Regions from separate parts of the Homo sapiens genome. Here region 1 is linked to region 2. The links are contacts of gene promoters, found by promoter capture Hi-C in blood cells and fetal thymus (Javierre and others, 2016). All regions are on one chromosome and are shown on one strand. The core of a region is centred on a gene start or on the middle of the fragment in contact, and the rest is flanking DNA. Distances in the headings are between cores, read along the strand shown.

Region 1 (3,117 bases), core at 267-2,766, 1.1 Mb before region 2:
ATTTGCCAATGCCAATTGGCAGACAGTTGGCACTCAAATTGGGGACAGGGCCAGGCAAAAAAAGGTCTTCAAAAACTGTGCTCCAAAATCCTCTAAAATCCACTGTGGTTGCATCATTGCCCAAACTTACAGCTTAATATGTTGGCTTTGCTGCTTAACAGCTGTGTGAATGGGCATGTTACTTAACCTCTGTATTTCTCCATCATAAGATAGACATAATAAATTTAAACCCATGGGTTATTGTGAGAATAAATAAGATAATCCATGTAAAAGATGCTCAGCCTAGTCCCTGGCATATGGCAGGTACTCAAGAAATGTTTAATTTGAATCTGTTGCATGCGCATTCTCCGTTGTAGCCAGATAAGTCTCTCTGCACCATGAAATGCCATTCTATCCCTGCCTTTATGCTTTTGTTTATGAGCAGAAGGAAAGTATGACCTAATGATTAATAACATGGCCTTTGCTGTCAGGCACACCTGGCTGAAGTTTTGTTTTCTCTGTTGCAGGACGCGGGTGAGTTAATTAGCTATTTTAAGCCCCAGTTTCTTCACCGTATAATGGGGGAATAATGGTACTGACCTTACAGTGTTGTAGTGAGGGTTTAAATGAGATAAAATTTGTGGATGCCTGGTTAAGACAATCATGAGCCAGCTTATTGAGCTCCTATTATGAGTTGGTCCTGGAGGTAGAGTGGTGAGCACACCCAGCTGGGTCTAATGGATGTATAACCATAAACAGTTACAAGCCTTAAAGTAAATATTTACAAATAATTACAAAGGGGCAATGTATGTAAGTGCCAGGTGAGCAGTTAGCAAGGGGGCCCAGCTAGGTCTAGGGGTCACATAAAACTTCTCAGTTACCTTGAATACCATACAGGATGTAGTATTAAAGGTTGACGTGAAGGACAAAGAGGAGGTGACCAGGCCCAGAGCTGGGGAAAGACTGTCCAAGGCAGGGGAATAGCATGTGTGTGGACTCAGAGACCGGAGAGCATGCGCTCTGTTTTGAAGAGCTGAGAAAAGTCCTGCGTGGGTCTTGTAGGTGTTCAATCAATGGCAACTGTCATTATTCTAGATTCCCTCTCAGGGTGCTGAATCCTAAAGCAGCTTGAGTGCCTACCTTAAGTCTTTTTCTCTTTTTAATGAAGCTTCCTTTGACTAACTCAGAACTGATTCCAATCTACTCTAAAACCTTATAGTATTTTAGTCAGTGCTATATAGATCAACACTTAGTTATATGATTTTAAAAGTTGTTCTTGAAGTTTTATGTATCTTTCCTGAGTCATCAAATTGATTGAAAATTCACTGAAGAGCCCTGATTTTGTATTATGAGTCTCCAGAGGGCTTAGCACAATGCTGAGTCCACAGTGATTAACAAATATGTAATGCTTGTTGCAGAAATATATCTTCCACCTAAAATTCTGTAGTGTACCCTGGGCAGTGTTGGGAGGGTGTACACTTGGGACCCAGATTCGACAACTTAACCATTTTCTATGTGTATAATCTTGGGCAAGTCATTCTTTTTAAGCCTCAGTTACCTTGAATAAAAAATGAGGATAGTACCATAGTTCATTTACTGTAAGACTCATTTTCTTTTCTTCACATTTTAACATCTCTAAAACTTGAATGTGTCTTACAATAAATGGCATGTTATAGTTTAATTGGCAGTATTTTTTTTCTGTGTTGGTGATTATAAAATAATGGTGTGTCTTAAATTCAGTGACATTTTAGGTTTGATGAAATAAATACAACTTTTACATTTTAGGATGGTTATGAAAATTCAAGCTAATTTACACAATTCATTTGTCCACAATTCATTTACCTGATGTTGGCATGACAGTGAAGAGGTAGCTGCAGACAATCAAAATCATTCCTGTGATCCAGTACAAGCTTTGCTAACTGCCAAAGTTAAAAACTGTTACGGCCGACATGCATGCCAGAACTCAAAAGCCACCTACCTTTAGCCTCAATTCCTCCAGATGTATTTTGCTACTTTTACACATTGTTAAGTTTTGTGGCATAATGCTTAAGATGTTGGATTTGTTGAGGAGTTCCCACCCTCCTACCCTAGTTCTAAGCCAATTGAGAAATAAGGTGAAAAACCAACAGATGAAGAATCAAAATGTCACTAAATTCTAGATTGTAGTGTGTAGCTTATATCTATGGTTAAGTGGGCTCTGTGATACTGAGCCCCAGAATTACCTGTGCATTTAGGGATATGCTGATAGGCTGCTGCTGTGAGGGTGCAAAGGAGAATGAGGATTTCTGTGGGCAGCCCATTCCAAGGAGAGAGGGAAAGAGCTGGGAGCTAGACTATACATGTCACTCACAGATCATGTAAGTCAGTCTTCAGGCCAGTAAAGAAACTCCAATAGGGCCCTGCCCAACTAAAGGGAACTTCTGGGGTGGGGCAGCACCTGGCATAGAGTAGGCTTTTAGTAGATGGTAGCTATTAGGGAAAATCATGGCAGCTTTTGAGAAGAAAAAGAAGTTATCCCAACCTTCAAAAATACTCTGTTTTTTACATTATGTACCCCTTAAGCAGACCTTTAAGGGCATGTATGTTTGTCTAGGATTCCTAAGCATTATTTTCATTAAATATTGTTAGTCCAGTGATTACTTGGTTGGTTATGCAGTTCTCAAATCAGGTGGATTTTAAAACATTAATATCTCAGCAATCTTTAAATACACTATTCAAATTATGTACTTACAGTAAGTCCATAATAATAGGGTGTTGCAAACACAGGAATTGCTATCATAATCTTAAAGATAAAAATAATTTGAGTAAATAAATTAGGAAGGGGAAAGGCTGATGTTAGTCAATGCCAAAGCTGATTTTGTAGAGCCAGAATGAAAAAAAATATGTGATTGAAAAATGTAGGCATCTATCTGCAAGACTTTCTAAAAAAAATGCAGATAGTAGTAATAAACTGCATTGCTGGAGAGAGGGGACTAAAATGTGTGTGTGTGTTTTTAAGATTTAACTTTTAAGTTCAGGGGTACATGTGCATATTTGCTATATAGGTAAACTTGTCTCAAGGGGGTTTGTTGTACAGATTATTTCATCACCCAGGTATTAAGCCTAGTATTATATAGGTAAACTTGTGTCATGGGGTTT
Region 2 (3,376 bases), core at 492-2,991:
AAGTGAGATATGATGGAATAACAGTACAAACCATACACGGGTTATAGTAAATGAGTGCTGTATCAAGTGTACAAATTACAAGAGTAAAGGCAAAGGTAAGAGATAGGGAAACGTTCTACAGAGGTTATGCCTTTACTGTATCTTAGCACATGAACAGAGGAAACACAATGTATAAAATATTGTAATGTGAAAAAGCACAGCAATTATGTAACTACAAAAAACAGTAATAGTATCCAAGATGAAGCAGTCAAAGTTAGAATAAAGGAGGGAAACAGAACTTCTATTTACTCATATTTATGTTCTCTAAAAATTATGCTATATAAACATCAAATATATAAATTAACAGTAATTCATAAATATATATGAAGTTCATGCTCAATATCTTTTTTTAACTGATAGGGTGTGTATTCAAAAAGTTTGGAGTCCACTGGTCTAAGCTCAAGGTGCCCAGGTGGTGGGGAGAAGAGGTTCCAATATGGAACACTGGAAAAGTAGGCAAGCACCAGGTCATAACGTTTAGACTTTATTCTGTATGCAATTAATAAATATTTAAAAGATTTCATCAGAAGAATAACCTGATCAGGCTTACATTTCGTGTAGACGAATCTAGCACCAAACTCAGGGAGTATGGAGGCCTATGGAAAACAAGATAAAGTAATCGCAAGAGTCTAGACAAGAAGTGATCACAGCCTGAATTAAGTCAGTGGAACTGGAGAGGTGAGGGCAATTTTAAGAACTCAGATCACAAAATTTAGTGATAATTAGAATATGGGATAAAGAGATTAAGACTCTCAGGTTTCTAGCTTAGGAGCAGCACATCTGGTTGAGAAATGGAGGAGAAAAGGGGTGCTTAGTTTTTCAGTGTCTTTTTAAGAGGAGGTAGGATAAGCAGAAGATAAAACTTTGCACACGGATTTTCAAATGTCTCCTGACTATCCCGGATTCTTAGTCAGCTGGATATGCAGGCCTGAAAAAGATACCAGACATCTAGATTGTAGACCGGGACTGAGGAATCATCAGAGTATGGTGAATAGTAAAAGCATTATAGAGCACCAGAACATCCTGTGTCCACGTTTAAAAATGGGAAGCTGGAGGAGCCCAGGATAAAACTAAGCACCCCTTTTCTCTTCCATTTCTTAACCCAGACGTGTTGCCCCTAAGCCAGAAACTTGAGAGTTTTAATAAACACTTATATTTATCCCATGTTCTAATTATCACTAAATTCTATTATCTGGATTCTTAAAATTGCCCTCATCTCTCCAGTTCCGTCTGACTCCTATCAAAACAGAGGGCTGCAGTTGAGTAGTAGGAAAGCAGTTGCTGCACACTGACATTTCACGAGCCTCTTGCTCGTATTTCACCTAAGAACTGCACACATGTAGGAGCAAAGGATCAGGTCCTCCTCTGTCTCCGAGGGTTTGATTATTTCAATTCATCGTTTTAAAACGCTGAAACAGACCAACAGTGTCCTAACCCGTGCCCAGTGATACCCTCCTCAAACCCAGCCTGGGTCAGGGGCTGATTGACTCCAGGAGGCGTCCCTCAGCTACTGTGTATCGGACATCTGCTGGAGGGCTCACAGCCGGCCTCCCGGCTGTGGTCAAATGAGCCTGACTCCTACCTCGATATGACTAGCGGCCACGCTGCCGAAGGACAAGAGCAACACAGTTGCCAAGACAGTCGCAGCCCGGCTGAGGCTGTCGGTGACGGCCATGTTTACCGGCTTCAGACTTCCCGCACCTGAAGGGGCGGAGGCAGTGCCGTAAAGTAGCGCTGCGGGTTTTTGCGACACCATCCGCGCCTCTTCGAGGTGGCCCTCTGGTCCGGCTTTAGAACTCTGCGGTTTTGTGGAGCTCGAGAGTCCGGGACAAGGTAGACGCAGGATATTGACCTTTTTATTTTTAACTGCATTTTCAGTTTGGAGGTTGTAAAATAGGTATAACATTTAAGAAAAAAAATTGAAAGGTGAGTGGAGGGAAAACCCGTAACTCCTTAAACTTTAAAAACTTATTTCTCTGTTCCCTTATTTATTTTATTTATTTATTTATTTATTTATTTATTTATTTTGCCGAGTGCTGCCAATTCTTTGAAAATATGAAGCTGGATGTGGTGGGAAGAACAAGCGTTTTGGCACAAAAAGATGATTAATTGGATAAACTATAAATGGAAAATGTGGGTGGGCGCTGCAATTTAGAGGCTTGGGGTCTACTACCTGGTGAAAGGATTAACATGGGAAGCTAGTTACGTTTTTGTTTCTTGAGTATCTTCTGTAATTATGGAACTAAAGCCTATCTGGAAGAGACACAGCTGGTGTATATGTATGGTCCACCATTCTCTTTATTATGTGAGTTCAGTTTTAATTTATGCATTTCATCTAGTATGACATAAACGTTTCCACGCTGCTTCCTCACAATTTTAACATTTAATGGTGAGATAAAATTCCATCCATTATTGATGCCTCAGCCAAAGTAATTGTCCCTCTGCTGCACAATGCAAAGTTTTTAAGTTTTACTATGAAAATAATATTGTAAAGAGTATCTTTTGTGTGTTTGGCTTTTTAAATCTGTTGAATTATTTTGTTTGTATAATTTTCCTGAACTAGGAATTTGGGGTCAAAATATTCCAAAACATTTTAATAACTATAAATGATGTTGCTTTCCAAAATGAACAAGCTTACAGCACTATCAGAATACACAACACCAAACCATACCATTTTTTTTCCTTTAAATTCTTTGGTATGAAATGTTACCCCTAGGTAACTATACTTATAATTCTTTGGTTACTATCAAGATCTGATGTCTTTCTTGTGTTTCTAAACTATCTCTGTGTCCTCTGATGTAAATTCTTTGTTTATATATTTATGTTTTGCATATGAATTTGAATAATATATTTATAAATAAGTAACATTAGCCTTTGCCATATTTTATGCTATTGCTTTTCCCATTCTCTTGTCTCTCTTTTCCTTTTATTTGTTTCTTTTGCTATTGCACTTTGTGAGAGGTTTCATGCTATTTAGTCAAATTTAGGTTTTCCGTTACGTGAATCCTAGAAAGTAAATACACTGCCAGAATATCTTCCATGTATTCATTAATTCAACAGATATCTATTGGATGCTGATGATTATGAAACAAAGTAGCAAAGATAAGAAGCCATTTGCTCATTCTGCTCCTTTGCCAGCAATATTTCACAAAGCCCCTGACTCATTGACTGTGAGCAGCCTTGTGGAAGAATGCCTTGAAGACCATAAGCAGGATAGGGAATAGGTTTGCACATCTCTTGCCTGAATCACTGAATTTTTACAAAAGGTAAGTTTGGTGATCCTAGCCCTTGCCTCTTCCTGTACATAAGATAATGTCTGACAAGATTAATGATTATG

Evidence for each region. Contacts are between HindIII fragments. The CHiCAGO score rates a contact against its expected background, and 5 or more counts as called.
Region 1: a contact is called between a fragment that was not itself captured here and the fragment with the promoter of PIGK in region 2, in 1 of 17 cell types (fetal thymus). The highest score is 5.4, in fetal thymus.

The regions. Positions count from the first base shown.
Region 1 is chr1:76,161,975-76,165,091 of GRCh38, forward strand. The region is part of intron 1 of ST6GALNAC3 (ST6 N-acetylgalactosaminide alpha-2,6-sialyltransferase 3); the gene reads left to right. Among named protein-coding and RNA genes, the nearest start is that of ST6GALNAC3, 89 kb to the left of the region's middle. The HindIII fragment of the contact is 742 bases long and covers 1,146-1,887 here.
Region 2 is chr1:77,217,689-77,221,064 of GRCh38, forward strand. PIGK (phosphatidylinositol glycan anchor biosynthesis class K) reads right to left here and starts at 1,742. Exons shown (of 11, transcript NM_005482.3): 1 at 1,622-1,742. The coding sequence starts at 1,714. LOC105378808 (a long non-coding RNA gene) reads left to right here and starts at 1,832. Exons shown (of 3, transcript XR_001738109.2): 1 at 1,832-1,965; 2 at 3,100-3,305. RefSeq lists an enhancer at 1,426-1,535. The HindIII fragment of the contact is 2,966 bases long and covers 1-2,670 here.